Regions from separate parts of the Homo sapiens genome. Here all the other regions are linked to region 2. Evidence: promoter capture Hi-C in 16 types of primary human blood cells and fetal thymus (Javierre and others, 2016). All regions are on one chromosome and are shown on one strand. The core of a region is centred on a gene start or on the middle of the fragment in contact, and the rest is flanking DNA. Distances in the headings are between cores, read along the strand shown. Region 1 holds the start of PCDHB11 (protocadherin beta 11). Region 2 holds the start of PCDHGA1 (protocadherin gamma subfamily A, 1). Region 3 holds the start of PCDHGC4 (protocadherin gamma subfamily C, 4).

Region 1 (3,776 bases), core at 868-3,367, 130 kb after region 2:
TGGCGGTGGCCGAGCGCGGAGGCTCGCCATTGTCCTTGACCAGCACCACCAGCCTGTGCTTGGCCGCGTCGCGCTCGCTCAGCAGCCTGGCGGTGCGCACCTCGCCATTGTGCGCCCACACGCCGAATAGCCCGGGCTCCGTGGCCTTGAGCAGCTGGTACGACAGCCAGGCGTTCTGGCCCGAGTCGCCGTCCACCGCCACCACCTTGGTCACCAGGTAGCCCGGCTCGGCCGCCCGGGGCACCAGCTCGGTGCAGGGCGCGGAGCCGTTCTGCAGCGGGTACAGCACGAAGGGCGAGTTGTCGTTGGCGTCCAGCACCAGCACGCGCACCAGCGCCTCGCTGCTCAAAGCCGGGGAGCCGCGGTCTGTGGCGCCCACGCGGAAGTCGAAAGCCTGCAGGGCCTCGTAGTCCAGCGACCTGAGGGCGAACAGGTGGCCGTTGTCTGTGTTGATGGAGACCAGGGAGGCGAGGGGCAGGTGCAGGTCCTGGGGCGGGAGTAGCGAGTAGTTGACCTGGGCGTTGGTGCCTGAGTCTCTGTCTGTAGCGCTGACACTGCCGATGTGCAGGGCGGGGCTGTTGTTCTCGCGGACGAACAGGGTGTAGGAGGTTTGGGTGAAGGTGGGGGCGTTGTCATTGACGTCAGAGACCAACACAGTTGTGTTGTGCTCGGTTTTCAGCCTGGGTATCCCCAAGTCGGTGACGGTGATGGTGATATTGTACTCGGCTGTGCTCTCTCTGTCCAGTGGTCTCTCTGTTTCCAACGTGTAGTAATTCTCAACTGAAGATTTTAGCACGAATGGGAGGTCTTCCGGAATGGAACAAACAATTCTTCCGTTGTCCCCAGAGTCTATATCTTGGATACTAAAAACCATAACCACGGTCTCTGGCGTATTTTCTGGGATTGGACTGGTAATTGATGACACAGTGATTTCAGGAGCATTGTCATTTACATCTATCACGTGAATTATGACTGTAGATTTTCCAAAAAGTCCTCCCCCATCTGTGGCTTGAATGATTATTGAGTATGACTCAATCGTTTCAAAATCCAGAGGTGCTCTTAAAGTAATTTCTCCAGACTTTTGATTAATTTCAAATGTCTTGCGAATATCTTCTGAGGCATGGGAAAAGGTATAGCATATTTCACCATTTGTTCCAGAGTCTAAATCCCAAGCTGAGACAATCAAAATCAGCGAGCCAAGGATGCTATTCTCCCGAATCTTCACCTCATAAAAAGCCTGCTCAAATTCAGGGGAGTTGTCATTAATGTCCACAACCACCACCCTGACCAAGGCAGTTCCAGACCTGGGAGGGGACCCACCATCCAGAGCAGAGAGGATGAAACTGAGCTCCGGGAGCTCTTCATAATCCAGCGCCTTGTCCAGAACTAACTCGGGGTATTTCCTATTGTCTGGAATGACTCTCATTTTAATGTGAAAATGAGAGTTGGGGCTTATTGTGTAGCTTTTTACAGCATTGATTCCTACATCTAAATCCTTCGCACTTTCTAGTAAGAACACAGCACCAACGGGACTGTTCTCTGGGATTTCTAGGAGCATTTGTTTTTCCGAGAAGATGGGAGAGTGATCATTTATATCCCTGACCTGAAGCTCAATTTGTAAAAACTGCGTGGGGTTTTGCATTAACACCTGCAAATGTAGCACGCAAGGCTCGATGGAACCGCAGAGCTCCTCCCTGTCTAGTGTTTCACTTAAGAGCAAATCCCCAGTGTTTATGTCCAGCTGCAAACGCTGTTTCTTATCATTAGAGACCACCCGAGCCCCCCGTGAGGACAGTTCTCTCACCTTCAGCCCCAGGTCCTTTGCCAGATTGCCTACAAAACTCCCGCTCTGCATTTCTTCTGCCACAGAAAAGCTCCAGGTTTCAGAGCCCGCCTGAGACATTCCGAGCAAAACAAAGAGAAGCAGGACTTGCCTTATCTGCTGAGTGCGTGTCCCTTGGTTCTCCATAGTTCCTTTCTTGTAGGCTTCTTGAAGAAAGGCTTCAGCTCTGCGGAACGCGTCTCTGACTTGTCCACCAAATCCTCTGTGGTCTAAGGATTTTAACCCTGTTGAATGGTTTCCAGGTCACCCTCTTGAAGGCTTGTTGTTTCTGTCTTCTGATTCTCTGTGTGCACTGGATATCAGTGTTCACAACGCCATCCAGTGAATATATTTTTCACGATGTTATCCTGCAGCGCCACCAAGTGTCTCCATAGATTTTCACAGTTTGGTGAAAGCTACCTAAATTCCATTCACTTATATGTCCTCCGGAAACAAATATTGTTTTATTCATTGTGTTCAAGTGATTACAAATATATTGCACGTTCTGTAATAATTATTTCATATTCTCTTTAGTTTGATATGCTGTTAATATTCATCTTAAAGCATTTATCTTTCCCCCTTCTCCATACAACCAAACGTGCTTAGTTGTGGTGAATACAGAAATACAAGATGTGATTCCTGGCTCCCAGTGGTTTGTAATCTTTCTGAGAAGACTGGAAACATAAAACAACCATAATATTTTTAAGCTGTACAAAATTCTATCACTACTTGACTTTCCTTAGGTGGTAATGAAAAGGCAAACTATACATGGGTCATTTTAGAAGTCCTCTCAGAGGATATGAAACTGGATTAACCATGAGATGGGACATACTTTGATAGTTATGATAGCACAAGAAGGCATTTATATAGATTTCCTTGGTAGCAAGGAATTGTGAACTGCTAGAAAGTAAAGTAAGATATTGGGAGTAGAACACATTATGAGAATCCTTGATTTAGTTCCAGCTTCTCAAAAAATAATAAATACACAAGCACAAGCATGTTAGTTTCATTTAAAGCAGGCTTATTTCTAAGACTGCCCTCCCTCAGTTTCCCAAGATTTATTCCAGCAACATCTATGGCTATCTGCTTTGTTTTTCAGCTCAAGAAGACAGAATGAGAGATATTTTCTTCCTCAATAATAGAACAAAATCTTAGCCTTCATTCTGATTAGACCAACTGAGAGCACTTCAGCCTGTTACTGAAGAAATCAGTGTCTCAAGATGTATAGGATTAAAGGTAGAGATTATAGTCCCAGAATCTAAAGACTCCATCTTTGACCCTTTGTTTTAATCCAGGCAGAGATTGCCCCTTAAACTTGAGGTGGTTTCAGTCCTAGCCAAAGTGCATGGCATAATGAGGGAGATAGTTGGAATAGGTGCTTGGAAACTACCAATGGTATCCACTGTTAGACATCTCAAAGTACTCTCAATAATGGAGGACATCTAAGAAGTCTGCTTTTAAAAATTCTAATTTCAAATTACATTCACAAAAATGTGAACTAGATACATGGTTGAAAAATTATCAGTGCAGAAGAGTAGAAATTGAATAGTATGTGGATTGACTATACAATTATCCTTCCTTCTTCTTAACCCCTCTCTAAAATGACAGAAAAGTAATAAAAGGTATGAATTCACAAAGACTAAGAATACATAAGTAAATACACAAATTATTTGATGATAGAAAGCAGATGAAAGAGCAATTGACAATAGTTCCAAGAAATGTCTAAAATAAAGTTCCTTCATTGGAGATACTAAAAATAAACTACTGGGTTTTCCCTACACAATCCTAGTAGGTACCAGACTTGGAGGAACCAGGTGTATAAGAAGGCTGAAGTCAAGTAAGGGCTTAAAAAAGAAGTTATTAGTTGAAAGTATGTATGTAGGATAGTTGAATTCTCTGGTCTTTTCACCATCATACAGAGACAAGAAAATAACTGAGAGCCAGAGAATGGAAA
Region 2 (3,382 bases), core at 809-3,308:
CGCCGTGCGCACCTCGCCCGTGTGCAGACCCACCGAGAAGAGTCCCGGCTCGCTGGCCTTGAGCAGGCGGTAGGACAGCCAGGCGTTCTGGCCCGAGTCTCTGTCCACCGCCACCACCTTGGTCACCAGGTAGCCGGGCTCTGCGGAGAGGGGCGCCAGCTCCACGCCGGTAGAACCATCTGTGGGGAGGGCGGGGTACAGGATCTCGGGCGCGTTGTCGTTCTGGTCCAGCAGGAATAGGCTGAGAGACACGTTGCTGCTGAGGGGCGGATCCCCACTGTCCCGCGCCATCACTTTCAGTTGCATGTCCCGGAACTGCTCATAGTCGAAGGATCGCAGCGCATACAGGACCCCAGTGTCGGAGTTGATGGAGAGGTAGGCAGATAGGGGTGCCCCCTGGATAGTGTCCTCTATTAGGGAGTAAGTGATTTGTGCATTCTCATTGCTGTCCAAGTCGTGGGCCCTCACAGAGAAGATGGAGGCTCCTCTGGGGTTGTTTTCGGGAATGTAGGCAGAGTAGGAGTCCTGATGGAAGACTGGGGAGTTGTCATTGATATCTGTCACTAGTAGTGAAATGTGAGTTTCAGTAGATAGAGCTGGAGTTCCTTGGTCTATTGCTGTTATTGTGATGTTGTACCCAGAGATAAGTTCTCTGTCCAGTGTTCTTTCAGTCACTAAACGGTAATAATTATCAACTAACTTTTCCAATTTAAAGGGTAAATTTCCAGGAATGAAACATGTGGTGTAGCCATTGTCTCCTGAGTCCTGGTCATGCACACTGATAAGAGCAATTATGGTCCCAGGAGGAAAGTTTTCTGGAACTGCAGTGGTGACAGAGGTGATGGTCACTTCTGGGGCATTATCATTTACATCCAAAACTTTGATCAGTACCTTAACTTTAGCCATGAGCCCCGCACCATCCTGGGCTTGAACTTCCATTGAATACATTTTGTATTCTTCGAAATCTAGTGGTTCTTTATTTGATATTTCTCCTGTGTAAGAATCTAAACGAAATATTTGGGCCACTCTGTGGTCTACATTGTGAAAGGAGTACGTTACTTCCCCATTGGCTCCCTCATCAGGGTCAGTGGCATTTACCATGAGCAGCTGAGTACCCAGCGGCACGTTTTCGGGGACATTTATATGGTATTGTGCCTGAGTAAATGCTGGAGGATTGTCATTTGCATCCACCACCTGAATGTAAATTCTGAGGGTCCCTGAACGGACTGGTTCACCCCCATCAGAAGCTGTGAGGATGAGGTGGTGGACAGCTTCTTCTTCTCTGTCTAAGGGACTCTGCAGCACCATCTCTGGATGTTGAGGCCCATCGGCTCCCTGTTGCACATCCAGGGAGAAATGAGGGTTAGAGCTGAGTTGGTAGCTCTGGAGTGAGTTCATACCCACATCAAGGTCTTGCCCAAAAGGCAATGAGACTCTGGTACCTGGAGTCGTTATTTCATTCATTTTAAACTCCAGTTCCTCTAACTGGAATTGGGGAGTGTTGTCATTAATATCAATTATTTCTACTTCAACAGGAAAAAGCTTCATTTTATCCTCAACAAGGATATTAAAACTCACGAGACACGGCATGCTCTGAGCGCAGAGCTCCTCCCGGTCTATCCTGCGCGCGGTGATCAAGCTGCCACTTCTAGGATTCAGAGCGAAAAGCGGCATCCTACCTCTGGAGACGATGCGGACTCCGCCATCTGCCAGCTCCTGGGGTTGCAGCCCTAGGTCCTTGGCGATGTTGCCTACGAAGGAACCTTTGTCTGTCTCTTCCGGCACTGAGTAGTGAATATTCCCAGCCCCAGCTTCCAACAGCAGCTCCAGAGAAAGACACAGAAGCATCAGCCTGCTGCAGCCAGTCAGCTTTTTCTGAATCTTCATGGCTCTCTCACTTCGTAGTTTTCTTCCAGTCCAGTACCAAGGGTATCGTTTCTGCTTTTCTGAGCTGAAATTAACCCAATTTTCAGGAGAATTCTGACTGGAGAGTCATCCAGAAGTAGGATTTAGGCAGTCTTGGACAGTCAGTTTTCAATCTGGCGGTTATGGAGGTTCTAAGAGGCACGAGAGCTTTTTTCTTTTTCTTTTTTTTTTTTTTCCTCCTCCTGACCTGTGTGTACTGCCTGTATCTACCAGATTAGTGAACAGCGGCGCCCACAGTCCTAACCAGTTACTGCATTCCTAGCAAATACTGAAAACCTTCTCATTAACTTGTTATTTTCTTAAGTTTTAGTCTATTGTCAAGGAAATAATTCTACAATATATGTATGAAAAAGAGAAACTATATGTTCACTTCTTTAAATGTGCCTAAATGTCACCAAATTGAAATATACAGGAGAATCCAAGTATTCCCATGTTATCTGCTTTCCAAGTTTGCTATTCAGGGAATTATAGTAAAAACCTAACATTACAATGAGGACAAAATCATCTCTCCACTTTTTCTGTAGTAAAGTTTGACCACTTGGTAATTTCCCAGGCCACATAGAGCAGCTCCCCTTTGACTGGAGGGTGAAAAGTATTAGAGGGAAAAATAATCTTTTAGAATATAAGCTAGACTTTAAAAAAATCATACCATCCCATTTCCTTCCCATTATGATTTGAATATTTATCAGAAACCTTGGGATTTTGAAGAGCATGGTTTAACCCTATCCTTATTTTTCCTCTTTTTTTTTTTTGAAGTGTCTTTGCATTATGTGGGTTTTTAAAAAATTCTTAAGATTCACCAAAGGCAATATATTTTGAAAAAAATAAAACTGGGCTCTTGGAATTTCATTGAAAAGTCACATGAATATATAATTTAGATTTCAAATTTCAGAGACAAAGTCTATGATATTATTCTTCACAGCTGAAAAGAAAAATGGTCTCATCTTTATTTTTAGATAGGCTCTTATAATATGTATTCCTCTATAATCGCACTTAATATTTTCTCCAAGAGAAGTTGGTTTTCTCTTAACAGTATTTTTTAACCAGTTGAGGATGTGGCCTTCTTTTTTTTTTAATCACTGCACTATTAGCAAAGGGTTACTAATTAAAATGTCTCAGGCTTAGAGTGACTTACTTATCTTTACCCCAAAGTTAGAGAAGCATGCTATCTGTACTCCAGAGTCTGATAATTTCAGGAACAAATTCGGCCAGCCAACCCATGGACACCATGACTGAGAAAAGTTAAAAATGAGGAAAGAAAGAAAACAATGAAAGGTCTCAATAATAGTTTTTGGAAAGAGAACTTTAGTTCTTAACCAAATCTACAGTTTCTCAGCTTCTCAAAGACAAGTACATGGAGCCAAAGAGTAGAAATTTAAAGGTGCAATAAATCATCTTCAATATTGCAAGGAAGTAACTCTTTAACAGAGAATGTAACTTTTCAGAATACACATTA
Region 3 (3,721 bases), core at 945-3,444, 150 kb before region 2:
CCCTTGGAGCTGAAGATTCTCGAAGATCTGGGACAACTGGATGAGTGTCTTCCTCTAAGGACACTAAGAGAGTAACAGAGGTAGAGAGTGGTGGACTACCACTATCCTTTACCACAATGACCAGCTTCTGTGGTGGGAGGTCAGCTGGGATAGGAACAGCCGTCCGCACCTCCCCAGCATATCGAGAGACTGCAAACAGGCTGGGATCTGGGGCCTCCAGGAGCTGATAGGAAACCCAAGCATTGTAACCTGAATCCAAGTCCACAGCAGTCACCTTTGTGATTAGGTGGCCAGCACCAACTGATGGAGGCAGTGCTTGGGGACATAAGGAACCAGGCCGGGCCCGAGGACGGAGCACAGCTGGAGCATTGTCATTGAGGTCCAGCACAAATAGACGAACTGTTACAGTGCTGCTAAGGGGTGGGTTGCCCCGATCCCGGGCCTGCACCTCAAACTGCAGTGTCTGGGTTTGCTCATAGTCAAAGGATCGAGTAGCATGAACAGCTCCTGTCTGGGGGTTCAGAGAGATGAAAGAGGAAGCTGATACATCTCGATTCCTGGGCTCCAGGAGTGAGTAGGAGATAAGCGCATTCAAGCCAGAGTCTGGGTCAGAGGCTGCAAGGGAGCAAAGCAGGTCCCCTGGGCGATTGTTCTCAGGAACAAACACCTCATGTGACCTCTGAAAGAAAGAGGGTGGATTATCATTCACATCTGAAATATTGAGGAAAATAGTTCTGTGGGTACTGAGAGGAGGGTTCCCAGCATCAGAAGCAGTGACCATGATGTCATAGCTAGATTTGGCCTCTCGATCCAAGGGTCCAGCAGTCACCAGGGAGAACTGGTTCCTGAAGGCAGACTTGAGGGCAAATGGCAAGTGGTCAGGAATGCGGAGGCTCACATCTCCGTTTGACCCTGAGTCTGGATCCTGCACACTGATAAGTGCCACCACAGTGCCAGGTTCTGCACTCTCGGGGAGGGTTCCAAGCTCTGAGGTCACTGTGATGTAAGGGGCATTGTCATTTACGTCCAGCAGATCCACTCGAAGGCTGCAATGTTGCTCCATGGCTGGAGAACCCCCATCGCGAGCCCGCACATCAAATTCATAGTAATTCTCACTCTCAAAGTCTAGGGGCCCCAAAAGAGTAAGCTTTCCAGTAGTGGGGTGCAGGCTAAAGAGGTTTCTTACACGATCAGGGGTATGACCACTGAAATAAAAGGTGACGTTACCACTGGGACCCAGGTCCGGGTCTGAGGCATTGAGCTGGATGAGCACCATGCCCGCTGGTGCGCTCTCCAACACACTAATCCTGTAGCTGGATTGCTGGAAGGCTGGGGCGTTGTCGTTTACGTCCAGCACGGATACCCGGAGCTCTGCGGTGCCAGATCTCGGCGGGTTCCCTCCATCGACAGCAGTCAGCACCAGGCGGTAGTCCGATTGCTTCTCTCGATCCAAAGGCTTCTCCAGGAGCAGCTCTGGGACCAGGCTGCCGTCGCTGCGCTTCTTCACATCCAGTGCAAAGTGTTCATTGGAGCTCAGCCTATAGCTGCTAATCGAATTGCTCCCCACATCTGCATCCTGAGCCTTTTCCAACGGGAAACGCTGTCCTGGAGGAGCTGCCTCCCCAATTTCCAAGTCCAGCTGCTGCCGCGGAAAACGGGGGGCGTGATCATTCACATCTACGATCTCTACCTCTGCTCGGTACATTTCCAAAGGACCTTCGGTGACAAACTCCAGGGGCACGATGCAGCTGGCACTGAGCCCACACAGTGCCTCTCGGTCGATTGGGTTCTTGATGAGCAGGGCTCCGCTGTCCAAATCCACACGGAAGTGTCTTTGGTTCACCTCTCCAGCGACCTGCAGCCTGCGAGCTGACAGACTGTCCGTATCCAGCAGGAAATCTTGAGCGACATTCCCTACAAAAGTCCCTTCCTGTGACTCCTCTGGGACCGGGTAGCGGATCTGCCCACAAACGTAACCCAGGTGGTAAAAGAGGAACAAAAGGGTAGCCCACCGCCAGATTTCTGTCCAGCTTCTCACCTTGCGGAGCATTGCTGCCGCCCGCTAATTCTCTACTTGCTCCTGAGACGCGGATGAAGCCGACCCGCCCCAAACAGCCACAGCAGCTGGAGACACCTATCTCCCTTTCCCCGCGCCAGCTCTGGCGCGGTTCGGCCGGCGCCGCAAGGGTTACGCGCCGTTTTTGCTGGTGGCGGGGTAGATTTGTCTGCCTTTCACCACCCGATTGGCAGACAGCGGCTCCCGGGCTCAGCCAATAGGCTGAGCAGAGAACGTCCCAACAGCAGCAGGGTTAATGCGTCGCAGCATTGGAGGGGAAAAAGCCCACCCTATCCTCCACGCTCCCCCACCCCCCAAAAAACCCAGCCTATCTTTTCGCCTTCCTCCCGCTCAACGGCATGTTTTTCCACGGGTTGTTATCTCTGTGGGGAGGCAGACAACATATATATATATATACATTTTTTTTCCTAACACACCGACTGACCCCGCCCCTTTTCGGCGGGGAAAACAGCCACAGCCTGAGCCCTAGCAACCTGCGGCCCACTGAGAGGGAGAGTAGCCATTGGAGAGTGGTCACTTTGTTCAAGCCAGTGTTGTCATCAACCAGTATTCTAAATGAGTAGCTTCCGTCTCAGTCTGATTGTATTGGAGCAACTGCTAATTAGAACCACTGCCATATACTCAAAACTCTGCCCTTCTGCAGAATATTCAGAAACGGATCCATCTCTTTGCAGAAAAGGCTTACACATTAACGTAGCCAATTAAATTTATGCAGTACATGTTCTCATTGTAACAGGAGACACAGCGGAAACCAAACCTTTCTTATTCAGACATTTGCTAGTGATACACTAGATACACTAAATTACCATTCATTGATTTCAAGGACAGTATGGAAGCGGGGTGGAGGAAGCCAGGAGAGGGAGATGTTTCAAAACAGTAAAGAATCAGTGTGTCTGGGAGGTGCTAAGGACCAGATCTCTTTACCTGGCAGAATGCTAATGTTCATAGATTTAATAGCTTCCTTGAATGATTGAGATCAGCTACCAACAGCATTGTGCCTACAAATTCCCTTTATCTGACACCAAGGTATTCTTGATCTTTTGTTAATTACCAACGAAGACCATTTCAAAAGAGCAAGCTTTTCACTTAGCCCCAGGGGACCTCTTGGAGCTGGAGACTTGATCTCACCCCACCCCCACCCTCATCCAGACCTCCCAGCAACCTAGCTACTCCCTTGCACAAGCACAGAAACACAACACAATTCACACCGTAGGTACCTACGACCTGCAATCTGAGTGGGAAACACACCAGAGCTCAGAGAAATAGAAAAATCCATCCTGATCTGGACATGAAATTTCTTAATTCAACCAAGTCCTTACCTAGGTTACACTGGCTGCCAAAAAAAGCAGCAACAACTGGAGTTCTTATCCTTCCCCAATATTTTTCCAAGCCTCGATCCTCAGGAATATCCTTTTGACTATGGTGGGAACCAATATTCTGGTGTCAAAAAGAGGAATCTGGCTTTCTGTGTTCTTTTACACACACACACACACACACAAACACACACCCCTCTATACCTTCTCCCATGGGAATGATGGAGGTGTAAACCAGCCTGACCTATTAGGTGTTTATGCCAGAATTCACTGTCTCTGTGAATGGCACTGTCAACCACCCAGCTTCCTTAGTCAGGATCTAGGGGGATCA

What was found. The method cuts DNA at HindIII sites, captures the fragments that hold promoters and counts their contacts. A CHiCAGO score of 5 or more calls a contact.
Region 1: a contact is called between the fragment with the promoter of PCDHB11 here and the fragment with the promoter of PCDHGA1 in region 2, in 2 of 17 cell types (endothelial precursors and M1 macrophages). The highest score is 5.5, in endothelial precursors.
Region 3: a contact is called between the fragment with the promoter of PCDHGC4 here and the fragment with the promoter of PCDHGA1 in region 2, in 8 of 17 cell types (naive CD4 T cells, naive CD8 T cells, total B cells and 5 more). The highest score is 7.0, in naive CD4 T cells.

The regions. Positions count from the first base shown.
Region 1 is chr5:141,197,968-141,201,743 of GRCh38, reverse strand. PCDHB11 (protocadherin beta 11) reads right to left here and starts at 2,117. Exons shown (of 1, transcript NM_018931.3): 1 at 1-2,117. The coding sequence starts at 1,969. It also overlaps PCDHB@. The HindIII fragment of the contact is 6,869 bases long and covers 1-3,776 here.
Region 2 is chr5:141,329,190-141,332,571 of GRCh38, reverse strand. PCDHGA1 (protocadherin gamma subfamily A, 1) reads right to left here and starts at 2,058. Exons shown (of 4, transcript NM_018912.3): 1 at 1-2,058. The coding sequence starts at 1,887. It also overlaps PCDHG@. The HindIII fragment of the contact is 2,043 bases long and covers 1,545-3,382 here.
Region 3 is chr5:141,483,503-141,487,223 of GRCh38, reverse strand. It overlaps PCDHGC4 (protocadherin gamma subfamily C, 4), which reads right to left and starts at 2,194. Exons shown (of 4, transcript NM_018928.3): 1 at 1-2,194. The coding sequence starts at 2,050. The region is part of intron 1 of PCDHGA1 (protocadherin gamma subfamily A, 1); the gene reads right to left. The region is part of intron 1 of PCDHGA2 (protocadherin gamma subfamily A, 2); the gene reads right to left. All of the region lies in intron 1 of PCDHGA3 (protocadherin gamma subfamily A, 3), which reads right to left. It also overlaps PCDHGB1, PCDHGA4, PCDHGB2, PCDHGA5, PCDHGB3 and PCDHGA6, and 12 more genes. RefSeq lists a silencer at 2,096-2,323. The HindIII fragment of the contact is 2,008 bases long and covers 1,150-3,157 here.